Regions from separate parts of the Homo sapiens genome. Here all the other regions are linked to region 2. The links are contacts of gene promoters, found by promoter capture Hi-C in blood cells and fetal thymus (Javierre and others, 2016). All regions are on one chromosome and are shown on one strand. Each heading gives the region's core, a stretch centred on a gene start or on the middle of the fragment in contact. The rest is flanking DNA. Distances are from core to core; before and after follow the strand shown.

Region 1 (2,700 bases), core at 100-2,599, 490 kb before region 2:
ACTGTAATAGCCCATATTAAAATTTTAAATCCACTTATTTTCTATGTTCATTTAAAATTAAAATAATCGGCAGGGCACAGTGGCTCACACCTGTAATCCCAGCACTTTGGGAGGCCAAGGTGGGTGGATCAGCAGAGCTCAGGAGTTTGAGACCAGCCTGGCCAACATGGCGAAATCCCATCTCTACTAAAAAAACAAAATGTAGCTGGGTGTGGTGGCTCACGCCTGTAGTCCCAGCTACTCAGGAGGCTGAGGCGTGAGAATCGCTTGAACCTGGGAGGCGGAGGTTGCAGTGAGGTGAGATCATGCCACTGCACTCCAGCCTGGGCAAGAGAGTGAGACTCGGTCCCAAGAAAAAATAATAATAAAAATAAATAAAATTAAATTAAAATCATCTGTTGTGAATTTTATTCTCTCTCTTCCCTTCATCTTGGGTGGGGAAATTCCTTAACATTCCAAGTCACCGGACAAAGCTTAATTCCAACTGTTTCTGTTCTATCTCAAAACTTGAGAAGGAATCCTATTATAAACACTTCTTGGTAATATTTTATTATGGTAATGAATTTTTGGACAAACTTTTACAGAAAAATTTTATGTAAAATTCAAGTAGGTTGATTTTAACCTCTCACCACTTAAACTTCTAAAATATCTAAATCAGTAAGTATGTAAATACCTTTTTGTGCTCTTCATATTCTAGTTTACTTAGTAACAATGCCTTCTCAAGATCTGCTTCAAACATTTCAGATGTCAGCTACAAAAAAAAAGTTTCACAATAAACAGACAGTATCATTACATCACATGAGCAAAATAACCATACATATTACTATATACAGAGGAAAAGAAAGCAAATATGTTAAAAAACAATATGGATTCTCCAAAGTTATCTAACCATGCCAAACTAGGAAGCCTATATTCTATAGAAGACATCAAAATACAAACTTCCAATTTTGAGATTTCCATTTCTCCTCTTCATTGTTATCTATTATATATGATATAATCTTACTTTTTACCTTAATAAAAAAATCTTACCAAATAATTGGCACTATAATAGATGTCAAAGGCAACATTCAGTTTAGGACACTAAAAATTATGAGTGATTATTACTCAAAAATATAAGAATACTAAAAAATAACTCAATAAGCATTATTAAACACAATATGCCATTTCATGAATATAGAAAAAACCACAGGTACAAAATAAGTTTGCCAAATGTCCTGGCATATGCCAGGTGTTACAGAATAATTGTTCATAGTGCATCTTTTTACTCTCAAAATGATAAACTATATGGTTGCTTTAAGTCATCTAATAATGATTCTTTGTGATATATATTTGTTTCTCTTTTTCACTAATCAATCTCACCTAACTTTTTAAAATCCAGTTTTCACCACCCTCCAATCCAATTAATCTCTACAAGACTTACTTTTCCTAATTGCCAAACAGAATGTTGCAGTAGTTGGATGCGACTTTGAGTTGTCCACTACTGGGCATAAGGTGAGTGGGTTTGCAGCTGTATATAAGATAGCTGCAACATGACATGGGTAAACATCCTGGATTTGTGTACATGTATGTGTCTATGTGTACAGGATAACAAAAGCATAAATTTAGTGGGCATCTCTTGTTTTTATCTGTCCAGAATCCCTTCCTCGATTCCTTTAAATAAGTGCACTTCATTCCAAAGTCCCATGGTTTCAGCAGAACAGCCAGTCGCATAATTCTGTACACTAAGCACTACCATACCACACAAACACCCAAGCTATCATCACCAATGACAAAAGGTGGGGGCAAGTGATCCAATTCCTTTTTTTTCCTCCCAGGAATTAAATTTTGAGAACAAAGGAAAAGCAGGTGGGTTTAATTATCTGATGATAACCCTCGAAAAATGACATCTACTAGCTCATGCCTCTGAGCACTCCCAAATTCCTTGGTTTCCAGCTTTTTCAAGACCTAATTATTTAGTTTTTAATTCAAATCTGTGAATCACTCAGTATCCTTCAAAAAAGGTTTTTGGCTAAGTTAATCATAATTGTTTCTATTACTTAATGATTTTTAAAAATCTAAACTAAAATAGAAACCAACTCCAAAAAGAAGTGATCTGTTTCAAGGAGAAACCTTAAAAACTAGAAAAATCTTAATAGACACTATGAACTAAACATTTCTAAGCAAAGTCATCCCTTTGAAAGCATCTAATCCTATGCTGATACAATAAAAAGAGAGGAAAAAAAGATTAAGCTTACACAGAAAAACAATCGAATGCAGAAAAATACAATTAGAATTAAAATGGTAAGGATATATAGAACTAGAAAATCAGATTAAGCCCAGTGTAAATTATACATACTTTATGGAATAACTGAAAAGAATTGAAGAATTACTCTGAACTAGTAATTAGCAAGAAAAAGTAATAAATTAATCTTTTAGTCTTACTATATACACTTATGTACATGGGTATTCAATGGTTATAAGGTAAAAGGAAATTTCCATCAATTTCTCCACCTAACCTCATGGCAAACTGATAATAAAATGTTTCACTAAACTTAAAGGACAGTAATCATCCTAACAGAAAAATTAACAAAACTAGGCCGGCACAGTGGCTCACGCCTATAATCCCAGCACTTTAGGAGGACGAGGTGGGCGGATCACCTGAGGTCAGGAGTTTGAGACCAGCCTGGCCAACATGGTGAAATACTAAAAATACAAAAAACA
Region 2 (2,700 bases), core at 90-2,589:
ATAGAAACAAAATAAATTACTTAAGGTATTTCAAAACCTTTTTCACATTCAGTGTCTGTTTCTTGACTTGGTAATTGATGTTTGTGTTTTCTCACAGCATGTGGTCTTCATGCTATTAAGAGCAGTGGTGATGGGCATTTCGTTAAAGAGCACACCACCATTGTCTCTGGAATCTTTTTCTTAGACACTGACACCCATTCTTCAAGTTTGATACTGATGCCATCCTGGTCAATGAAATTATCAACGCAAGGTTTTCAGAGCTCAACCAGGACTTTTTTTCCTCAACTGCTTCTTACACGGCTTTTGATTGAAGAGTAGCTGCTTTGTCACCAGGAATACATTACCAAATGTGCAGATGAATAGGCCTACCGTTATGGCCTACAACAGGATGGCTCCTTGAAGGGAGACATGGATATTATGTACCCTTATGGTGTATCATATTACTTCTGCAAAATATTCACTATCCCTCCCTATGACAGGATAATTTAACTGTGGTGACTGACATCGTGCCTGTCACAGGACTTGTTTTGGCTAATGGAATGTCATGGAAGTAAAGGGTATCATTTCCTAGCGGAAGATGAAAGAGCCATCATGTGGTTCCCACCTTTCTTTTCCCTCTTAAGACCAACATGCCCCCCTTAGAGGCTGCTCCTTTAGACTGGGTGCTGAAGCAATATGGATTACAACCAAGATGGATCATTACAAACATGTGAGTGAAAAATAAATCTGTAAGCCACTGAGGTTTTTGGGTTGTTTGTTTCTGTAGCGTAATTTATGGTTAAACTGACTGATAGAACTCTTAAGCAGAATGGATTTAAACCCTGGTTTTGGTATGATCCACGTGTTCTCCTCAAGGACTCTTGATTTCTGCAGGACTTCCTGAGGGTAGTCAATGAGTTGGTGATTGATGACTAGTTTTCCCTTATGTGAGATTCAAGTTCAGGCTATTTCAGGTAAGCCAAGGTATATGCAGAGTGACCTCACCTGAGATGTGCTTAAACTGAGTCACCCTGGACTACTTAGTGGACACTAAGTGGGTGTGGGTGAGTCAGAGCCCAGTTGTTGGGAGCGGCCGTTTATAGCTGTATTCTGGTGAAATGCCTTGCAAACATTAAAGTCAGAAAATCCCATTGAGACTGGAATCAACAACACCTCACTTTGGGACATCATAGCAGTTCTTGGTGGGGAAGGGGCTGGTGGGGAGGGAGGGGAGGAGGAAAATGTTGTAGCTTTGAAGGTCCACTCTTGTTTTTCTTCATTCCTTGCAATTAAAGCTGATTCCATTATGGAAGCATCAATCTGTGGACAATAGCTTCTTTTTTTTTTCTTTCCAAAGCAGAAAATTCAGCATCTGTACTTCAGAGTTCCACTGGAGAAGTGGCTGACCTCAAAATGTATTAGAGATCCCATTGCAGTTAAAGGTCGATGGATTCAACAATGTGCAGCAGCCCTTCAAAGAATACAGACTGTGGTTTCCTCCTGGGATGACTTCACCAGGACCCTTGGCAACAGTGCTGGTGGAAAGTGGAAAGAAACAGTTACATGAGCCATAGATGGCAGAAACAGTAGGTGAGCAGACAATGACATTAAAAATAGTTCAGGGCAGGAAGCTGATTTTCTTGCTCACATTCTGGTTAGGGTGGATTAAAGGACAGAGACACTGGGGAATTTGTTTTGGCTCCTAAATTCTGGGTGTCCTCAAGAACTTTCCCTATTTCCTCCATAACAAGCAAAGATAGGATAGAATCAATCCTTATAAAACACTTGCACATTAAGGATGGCACCTTGTGTGGGAACACTGATTTTGCAAATTAAAACTGTACAGGGTGGGGGTGGCTGGCATGGGTCACTGGTAGTTTCTTGTTCACCATAGACGATCATCGTGTTGTCTGGACAGCCTGGATCCCCTTGAAGGGGAGCCAGCAGAGGGTAGCAGTTAAGGGCATAGGCTTAGCAGGAAGATCAGCCTGAATTTTGTATCTCACTTGTACTTGTGCTAATTTTGCTGGAGTAGACATAGCTTCCCTAAGCCTTAATTTTGTGGAATGAAAAAAAAAAAAAAAAGATAGTGCCCAACTTATACAGTAGTTGCAAGGTTTAAGTGAGCTAATTCATACAAAGTGCGTAACACACAGCTGGGTGCATATTAAATGCTTGAGTAGCACTAGCTAGTGTTATAGTTGCTAGCCTTATCTGAGAAAAGTCAGAGTGAAAGGTGGTTAGAATCACTGCATAAGTTCTTACTTTTAAATAGAGTCATAAAGTTATAAAATTAAGTCGATGAGTGAGCGGAGATTGCGCCACTGCACTCCAGCCTGGGAGACAGAGCAAGACTCCGTCTCAAAAAAAAAAAAAAAAAAGTAAGTGGATATTTAGGTGTGATTTGATTGATTATTAATGGAGTATAAAGAAATTATAATCAAGAATACAATACCTGCTCAACAGACTTTGGCAACAAGCTATCACCTTGGTTGTGTTTCCAGGGAAAGTGGAGTTGAAGGCATTCTCTAAAACGTGATGGCAGTTGATGTCCACAGGAGTGCTGGAGAGTATGCCTAGAAGTGGAACAGAGTCCCATTTATTTATTATTTTTTAGTTTTATTTATGTATTTATATATTTATTTATTTAGAGACAGAGTCTTGCGCTTTTGCCCAGGCTAGAGTGTAGTGGCATGATCTCTGCTCACTGCAACCTCTGCC
Region 3 (2,700 bases), core at 15-2,514, 280 kb before region 2:
AGGTCCTTCTGATGAAGAACTCTTGGCAAGTCTTGATGAAAATGATGAGCTTACAGCAAATAATGACACTTCCTCAGAACGATGTTTCACCACAGGTAGTTCCTCAAATACCATTCCCACAAGACAGTCAAGTTTTGAGCCAGAATTTGTTATTTCTCCAAGACCAAAAGAGGAACCATCAAACCTATCTATACATGTAATGGATGGAGAATTAGATGACTTTTCACTGGAGGAGGCCTTGCTTTTAGAAGAAACTGTCCAGAAAGAACAGATGGAAACTAAGGAATTGCAACCATTGACTTTTAACAGAAATGCCGATCGAAGTATAGAGAGATTTTCACATAATCCTAATACTACGAATAACTTTTCTTTGACTTGCAAAAATGGAAACAATAATTGGAGTGAAAAAAATGTATCTGAACAAATGACTAATGAAGACAAATCATTTGGTTGTCCATCTGTTAGAGACCAAAACAGGAGTATTTTTTCAGTTCATTGTAATGTACCCTTAGCCCATGATTTTACAAATAAAGAAAAGAACTTAGAGACAGATAATAAAATAAAACAAACCAGCAGTTCAGATAGCCATTCCTTAAATAATAAAATATTAAATAGAGAGGTGGTCAACTATGTACAGAAAAGGAATTCACAAATTTCTAATGAAAATGATTGTAATTTACAGAGTTGTTCTTTAAGATCATCAGAGAATAGCATTAATCTTTCTATTGCCATGGATTTGTATTCTCCACCCTTTGTCTATTTGTCTGTTCTAATGGCCAGCAAACCAAAGGAAGTTACAACAGTGAAAGTGAAAGCATTTATTGTAACCTTAACTGGAAATCTCTCAAGTTCTGGTGGTATTTGGAGTATAACTGCAAAGGTGTCTGATGGTACTGCATATCTAGATGTAGACTTTGTGGATGAAATACTTACTAGCTTGATAGGGTTCTCAGTACCAGAAATGAAACAGTCAAAAAAGGATCCTCTTCAATACCAAAAGTTCCTGGAAGGGTTGCAGAAATGTCAAAGAGATCTAATAGATTTGTGCTGTCTAATGACTATTTCATTTAATCCTTCCTTGTCTAAAGCAATGGTACTGGCATTACAAGATGTTAATATGGAACACCTTGAGAATCTAAAGAAGCGGTTAAATAAATAATTAAACTAAAATAGTATTAGGAACAATTAAAAACAACAAGGAAATATTTAGAATTTGTTCACAATTTTACTTATGATACTTTGTGTAAAAAGGAAAAATGAAATTTCATAGCTTATTTCAGTTTAATTTTAAAGTGTTTAATCATGTTTGTTATATGTGGAGCTTTTGAAAATAAGTTAATCTTTTTTTTTTTTTTTTTAATGTCAGGGTATTGCTCTGTTGCCCAGGCTAGAGTGCAGTGGCATGATCATAGGTTATTGCATCAACCTCTTGAGCTCAAGCGATCCTCCTGCCTTAGCCTCTTGAGTTGCTGGGACTATAGGCATGTACCACCATGCCCAGCTAATTTATAATTACTATTATTGTTTTGTAGGGACAGAGTTTTGCTATGTTGCCCAGATTGGTCTCAAACTCCTGGCCTCTCACTCCTGCCGTCATGGCCTCCAAAGTTTACTTTTTTTAAAAGTAACTGTTAGATGGAGGAATATGGTGACCCACTATTGTTGAGAAATTTGTTTTCCACTTGTCACGTCACATAAGATGATTGCTAAAATATTGTACTGGTGTTCGGTGGTGAGTCATATTTTTGAAAGTTAATAATTATAAATAGGTAATTTCCTTCTAATATGTTGGTACTGTCTATGGCCATACCACCCTGAACATGCCTGAGCTTGTCATAATATGTTGAGTACCCAAAAGATTTGTTTATATTGTTAATCTTAGGGAAAAAAAATTAAAATCCAGTAGATCAGAACATCAGGCTTTCAGATACAAATTGATTTACTGGTTTTTATTTTGCTGATTATAATATTTGGTATATTTAAGGTAATCTAGTTAACTAGATGCTATTTCATAGATTATATTGAATGATTTAAAACTTTATTTTCAAGGATAGTTTATTTTAAATGGCATATTGAAAACATCATTATTAAGATCCAGTAGGTAGGACATTTATTGGATTAAAATGAAGCATTTATCTATGTCTTTAGGTGTCATTGTTCCCTTTCTGAATTAGCTGTACATATAAGCCTTCCTTTGGTTTTAAGTACTGATTTTTTTTTAAAAAAAAGAGGGACTGTTTACCATTCTTCCACTGTGCTGTTATAAAGTTGTATTTGAAAGGTAATGTTGTTTTTATTAATCTTTTGTCTTAAAATAATTTAAAGTGCTTTGAATTTTAAAACATTAAACAAATCCTTAAATAACAAAATACATTGGTGTTTTATTTTATTGAAAATAATGTAACGAAATATCAGGAAGTAAGATAAATACATGTATGATGTATGATAATAGAAGTAGAAGAGAAAGATTTTAAAATATTTTCATTGTTGTATCAGGGTTCAAAGCACCAGGACACAGATATTGCTAATATATGCCCTAGTAATAATCTTGTCTATATACTTGCATAGCTTTTTAATAAGTGATCTGAATGGGATAGCTTTATCTTTCATTATCTTTTCATTAAATTTTCTCCTTCTATACTCTCATCTCTGTGAATGGGGCTTGAAAATTGGGATTAGAACTTCTTTTCATATTGTCAT
Region 4 (2,700 bases), core at 52-2,551, 360 kb before region 2:
ATCTTAACAGAGGACTTGGCTGTCAATTCCCCCACTCTATTACCAGACACTTAACTAAAATGATTTCCAAGGTTCCCTTCAGCTCTATATGAGATCCTATGATTCCATCTTTTCCAAACTACAATTATAAGCAGGAGAAATTATGTCCTAAAATATTCAGAATTTAAAAAAGAAATCTGGCTAGAATATGAAAAAGAAAAGATACTTTACATAATAAATTTTTCCTACGGTCCCTAAGTCCTGATTGCGGGACTCTTAATATTTACAACTGGCTTGTTAAAGAATGCAAAATCTAATCATGTTAACTCATTTATCTCTATTTTAAATTCTGTTCAAAATAACAAGGGCTGACCACTGAAAACTATTTTAAACTTCTTTCCTCAAGCAAATATAATCCTAAGTTAGATTGCTTAATGAAACTTCAATATTTAAAAACGAATCTTTCAAAGATGATGATCTTATGATCACATTTGATTACATGATTCATTCCTTCACTATTCAATCAATATGCTAAACACCTACCATGTGTCAGGTATTGGTCATATTTTTGCTTCTTTCTAGCGTCACAAATAAAAGTCAAAGAGTATAAGAATCTTACCAATATGGCCCCCTCCAATGGTGTATGTCTTCCCAGATCCAGTTTGTCCATAGGCAAAAACAGTTGCATTATAGCCCTCAATGAGTGACAACACTAGGGGCTTTATACATGTGTTATAAACTTCATCTTGAGTGGAATTTTTGCCAAAAACAAAATCAAAAGTGAAGACTCTATCTCTCCCAATGATAACTTGCTGGCTGTTTGGAATAACTCTCACACAAACTTGATGATTATGAAGAGCTTCTTTGCAAAGCAGAGGTCTAATTCTTACAGCAACTTTTACTGGTATTTCTTCCATGGCAACTTAGATTTTACTAAATAGATTTTCTATTTAATGTTCAGTATCTAGTGTGAGAGACTTCCATCTTATGTAAGATCTGGATTCCTGTGCAACAAAAATAAAAAGCAAATTTTAATTACTGATTCCTTGTATCCCAATAAACTAACCACCTTCTAAAGCAAAGTCAATTAGAACAGGTTTTGTTCCAATACAACACAGTTACAAAGAGTAAGCCTGTCTTGTAAAATACATCGTAAATTTGTAGACAAACTAGTATGTCTTGGGTTTGCTTCAAAATAATCTAGGTGTGGGGTCCATGAGTTGATAAATGATGAAGCTAGGTGATAAGTACATGGGATTCCATTGGGCCTTTATTTCTACAGTAATAATGTTTCCCAGTTCATTAATCTAAATATTAAATAACCAGGGAGTTAGAAAATTAAGGCAAGGAGATAAGTAAGGAACTGTACACACGTTTTTTTGTTTTTTGAGATGGAGTCTAGGCTGGAACGCAGTGGTGAGATCTCGGCTCTCTGCAACCTCTGCCTACCAGGTTCAAGTGATTCTCCTGCCTCAGGCCTCTCGAGTAGCTGGGGTTACAGGCGCCCGCCACCACACCCAGCTAATTTTTGTATTTTTAGTAGAGACAGGGTTTCACCATATTGGCCAGGCTGGTCTCAAGCTCCGAACCTCAGGTGACCCGCCCGCCTCGGCCTCCCAAGTGCCAGGATTACAGGCGTGAGCCACCGTGCCCAGCCTGTACATGTGTTAAAAACAAACATTAGTACTAGATTTTATAGCTATGCATTGAAAAATAGCATCTCCTCTTTGCCACAATTATTAGAAATAAATCCATGAAAATAGTTTTAAGAATTTCAATAAGTCAACATAAATTTAAAACTAAATTTGTATTCAAAAATAATCAAAACTAACAGAAAAACTGCTTTTTCTACTTCTAAATATTATGTTGTACTTATTTCTGAAGATCTCTGCTAGAATTAATACATTAAAATTTAAATTGATGGCTGTAGTTTCCTGGCTAAAAATATATATAAACAAATAATTGGTAACTACATTTACAATGAACACTTTTTTTTTTTTTTTTTTTGAGACGGAGTCTCGCTCTGTCGCTCAGGCTGGAGTGCAGTGGCGCGATCTGGGCTCACTGCAAGCTCCACCTCCCGGGTTCACACCATTCTCCTGCCTCAGCCTCCAGAGTAGCTGGGACTACAGGCACCCGCCACTATGCCTGGCTAATTTTTTCTATTTTTAGTAGACATGGGGTTTCACCGTGTTAGCCAGGACGGTCTCGATCTCCTGACCTCGTGATGCGCCTGTCTTGGCCTCCCAAAGGGCTGGGATTACAGGCGTGAGCCACCGCGCACGACAGAACACTCTTTTTTTTTTAAATATATATATTTTATTATACTTTAAGTTCTAGGGTACATGTGCACAACGTGCAGGTTTGTTACATATGTATACATGTGCCATGTTGGTGTGCTGCACCCATTAACTTGTCATTTACATTAGGTATATCTCCTAATGCTATCCCTCCCCCCTTCCCCCACCCCACAACAAGCCCCAATGTGTGATGTTCCCCTTCCTGTGGCAGAACACTCTTAAAAATAAATGTAAAAAACAATTCCATTTACAATAGCATCAAAAAGAATAAAATACTTAGAAATAAATTTAACAAAAGATGTGTAAAACATATAGTCTGAAAACTATAAAATACTGTTAGAAGAAAGCACAAGATGTAAATGAAAAAACATCTCATGTTTATGAATTGAAAGATATATTAATATGTCAGTATTCCCCAAAT
Region 5 (2,700 bases), core at 201-2,700, 300 kb before region 2:
GGAATGAGGACAGCATTCCTGGAAAAGCTTGATGGTGGTTTGAGTGTTCTGTAGTAAGATCATAAAAAAAAATAATAATAATTAGAAGAAAATTAGCTTTCCTAGGTTCAGTGAAAATTGCATTTGAATTCAACAATTAACCCCCCACAATATAAAAACTTCATTAATTATCACAGGGCTTTGCAATGGTATAAAAATTTTGACAAAATAACATGTCTAGCAGTGCCAGACATTTTTTGTCATTTGCGATAAGCAATCTTTGGAGGGAACTGAGAGGGGAAGCGAGAGAAGCTCACAGAAACAAGTCTATATGAAAATTTACTTTCCAGCAAAGAATACGGCAGAATTTTTTTTTTTTTACCTCTCGAAGTTCTTTGATTTTAGCACCTTTGACCCCAATAATTCCTCCTGCTAGACTCTGATGAATCAACAGCCTCAACTCGCAGTCAAAGTCACTTCCTTTATAGTGTTGGTACTGTGGAGGGAGAATTATAAAATTTTAGTCTCAAATCAACAATTCCCCAATACACACTTATCTGCTATAAGCATAACAATAATATACTGTTGCAGTGAGCAACCTGAATTTATATTTCAATAACTTTACCAGTTATGTGCTTATTATCCTCAATAGCCAGGCCCAAAAAGGACATTCTGCACCACCTTAAAAAACTATTTTATTTTCAGGTCCTGCAACACCATACCCACACTGCAGCCATTTAGCATGTCGCTGTTACCACAAAATTATTATTAACATTCAAATAACACCATAATAAAAATGACTGCAAAGCACTTTGCAAATGTAGTTAATTCCCACTGCAGCATGGAGCAGGGTCAACAGTGAGTTGTAAGACCATTCATGTATCATGTTTTTAAGCCTTTTTCTATAGAGATGGGAAAAGCACACTATGTTAAAAATATAATCGATCCTATGGGCCAGGCTCCATACTTCAGTGGGGTTCAATGGCACTATGACATACATTTAAGCATTCCACAGCATCAGATTCGAGCGGGAGCTGGCTGGTTGCAGTGGGTGATGGCAACTGCAGGCCCTGAAAGTAGAAAAATAAGAGTAATAGGTTAAGTGTCTAGCGTGATCAGGCTATTGTCGCATATATTGGTAAAGCTACTACAACATATTTTAAATCTATATTATTAAATAATGAGAAACTGCTTTATTCAACATTAAGACGATTCAAAACATAAAATATTTTTCTCTATATACACCTAGTGAATTATGTAGAGTCTTAAAATCCTAACTAAATCTAACTAATTCTCCTTTTCAACATGTTCCCACAAATATTCTAATTTTAAAAATCTTTCTGATAACTAAAGCCCATAAAATACATACTAAACCCATGAAAGCACATGACCACAGGTTAAGTTCACATTTACTCCAGGAGTGGCCAGCCTGTTTTTTTTTTTAAAAAAAAAAAAACAAATTACGCATGTACAAAATTATGTAGCAGGTTAAGATACTGCTACAAACTGTCATATCCATTGTCTCTCCACCTCCCCCATCATACCCCAATACAACATACTTTAAACATTCCCCCCTCATATTGTCAAATACATTTAAAAAAAAATGAGCCTACCTCTTCCAAGGTAGGGATGATTTTCTTCAGAATTTCTCCAATTGTTTCAATATCAGCACTGATACTCAATATGCTGTCAAACACCACAAATACCAGATAGTACAAAAAAGGTGGAAAAGAAAAATGAGTTTTGTGTTTGTCACCAAATCATACAAACTTTCACAGAGATGTAACACATGATTATTTAATATTCCCCATTTAAAGTAGCCTATTTATAGATTTCTCACATGCATTTTGTTTTATACCCAATACAGACATGATAACAATATTAGGAGACTTGCAGAGAGACAGAGAGAATGGGCTTTTGGAAGGGCTCAGATTAAGTGGGCAATAAACTGACCAGAACTGAAGCAGAGTTGAATATTTATGTTCCCCGCCACCACTGAGTTAAGGATACCCTTGCTGTTACATTGGTAAAACTGGCACACCTTCTCTTAGGCAAAGTGGGGGAATATGCAAGTGGTGAACATTGTATCTGGAGTAAGGTTATGAATACCAGTTAGAAATTAGATCACTAATGGGCTCTGCAAGAAAACAAATACAAATGCAAGACAAAACAAAGACAACACAAATGAGAAGTGAAGGAAAGTGAACCAGAGTTAGCATTTCATCAGAAAAAATTATGAACAGGCAATGTTGGGAAGCAAGGTGGGCCACAAAGACAGAGCGAGAGACTATTTTGGTAACAATTTGATTTACAATGCGGCAAATATGCAACACTTGAAGCTGTGCTCCTTCCATCGAAATAAAATTAGTGGATCGTTTGGGTGGGCAACTCACGGTAAAAGTTCAGTGACAAAAAGACTTAATGGGGAAAATAAGACAGAAACTTGAAAAACAATACACCGTCTAAAGGGGATACTATTTAATTATATAAAAGGCAGGTAATAAAATACATTTCTCTCTTTCTAATCAGGCAGTGAGGCATAAACTGTTGGGACATACCGCTCGGGGCCACTGCTGTCTGGGACTGAAACACTGGCATTGTACTGCATTGGTCATTGGCGTTCGTGGATGTTGGCATTGGGCATGGGCATTCAATCAGAAGTTGTCAAGTATGGTACCCGTTTGGCAACGAGCACATTTTTGGGCATAGCCAACCAGGGTT

The links. Contacts are between HindIII fragments. The CHiCAGO score rates a contact against its expected background, and 5 or more counts as called.
Region 1: a contact is called between a fragment that was not itself captured here and the fragment with the promoter of SLC28A3-AS1 in region 2, in 1 of 17 cell types (neutrophils). The highest score is 6.7, in neutrophils.
Region 3: a fragment that was not itself captured here is called in contact with the fragment with the promoter of SLC28A3-AS1 in region 2 in 2 of 17 cell types (naive B cells and total B cells); the score reaches 6.8 in naive B cells.
Region 4: a contact is called between a fragment that was not itself captured here and the fragment with the promoter of SLC28A3-AS1 in region 2, in 2 of 17 cell types (total B cells and neutrophils). The highest score is 5.6, in total B cells.
Region 5: a fragment that was not itself captured here is called in contact with the fragment with the promoter of SLC28A3-AS1 in region 2 in 8 of 17 cell types (naive B cells, total B cells, M0 macrophages and 5 more); the score reaches 15.8 in naive B cells.

What each region holds. Positions count from the first base shown.
Region 1 is chr9:83,787,928-83,790,627 of GRCh38, forward strand. GKAP1 (G kinase anchoring protein 1) reads right to left here. Exons shown (of 13, transcript NM_025211.4): 5 at 674-751. Among named protein-coding and RNA genes, the nearest start is that of GKAP1, 28 kb to the right of the region's middle. The HindIII fragment of the contact is 1,756 bases long and covers 472-2,227 here.
Region 2 is chr9:84,276,831-84,279,530 of GRCh38, forward strand. It overlaps SLC28A3-AS1 (SLC28A3 regulatory antisense RNA 1), which reads left to right and starts at 1,340. Exons shown (of 2, transcript XR_001746802.1): 1 at 1,340-1,569. SLC28A3 (solute carrier family 28 member 3) reads right to left here. Exons shown (of 18, transcript NM_001199633.2): 17 at 2,435-2,555; 18 at 1-1,514. The coding sequence ends at 1,388. RefSeq lists enhancers at 1-425, 558-1,757. The HindIII fragment of the contact is 13,311 bases long and covers 1-2,700 here.
Region 3 is chr9:84,001,706-84,004,405 of GRCh38, forward strand. RMI1 (RecQ mediated genome instability 1) reads left to right here. Exons shown (of 3, transcript NM_001358291.2): 3 at 1-2,369. The coding sequence ends at 1,159. Among named protein-coding and RNA genes, the nearest start is that of RMI1, 22 kb to the left of the region's middle. The HindIII fragment of the contact is 3,800 bases long and covers 1-2,700 here.
Region 4 is chr9:83,914,696-83,917,395 of GRCh38, forward strand. It overlaps KIF27 (kinesin family member 27), which reads right to left. Exons shown (of 18, transcript NM_017576.4): 2 at 599-983. The coding sequence starts at 896. Among named protein-coding and RNA genes, the nearest start is that of KIF27, 5.4 kb to the right of the region's middle. The HindIII fragment of the contact is 6,796 bases long and covers 1-2,700 here.
Region 5 is chr9:83,972,925-83,975,624 of GRCh38, forward strand. HNRNPK (heterogeneous nuclear ribonucleoprotein K) reads right to left here. Exons shown (of 17, transcript NM_031263.4): 6 at 2,538-2,581; 7 at 1,593-1,665; 8 at 978-1,049; 9 at 362-475; 10 at 1-48. It overlaps HNRNPK-AS1 (HNRNPK antisense RNA 1), which reads left to right. Exons shown (of 2, transcript NR_186535.1): 2 at 2,509-2,700. Among named protein-coding and RNA genes, the nearest start is that of HNRNPK-AS1, 2.2 kb to the left of the region's middle. The HindIII fragment of the contact is 2,850 bases long and covers 26-2,700 here.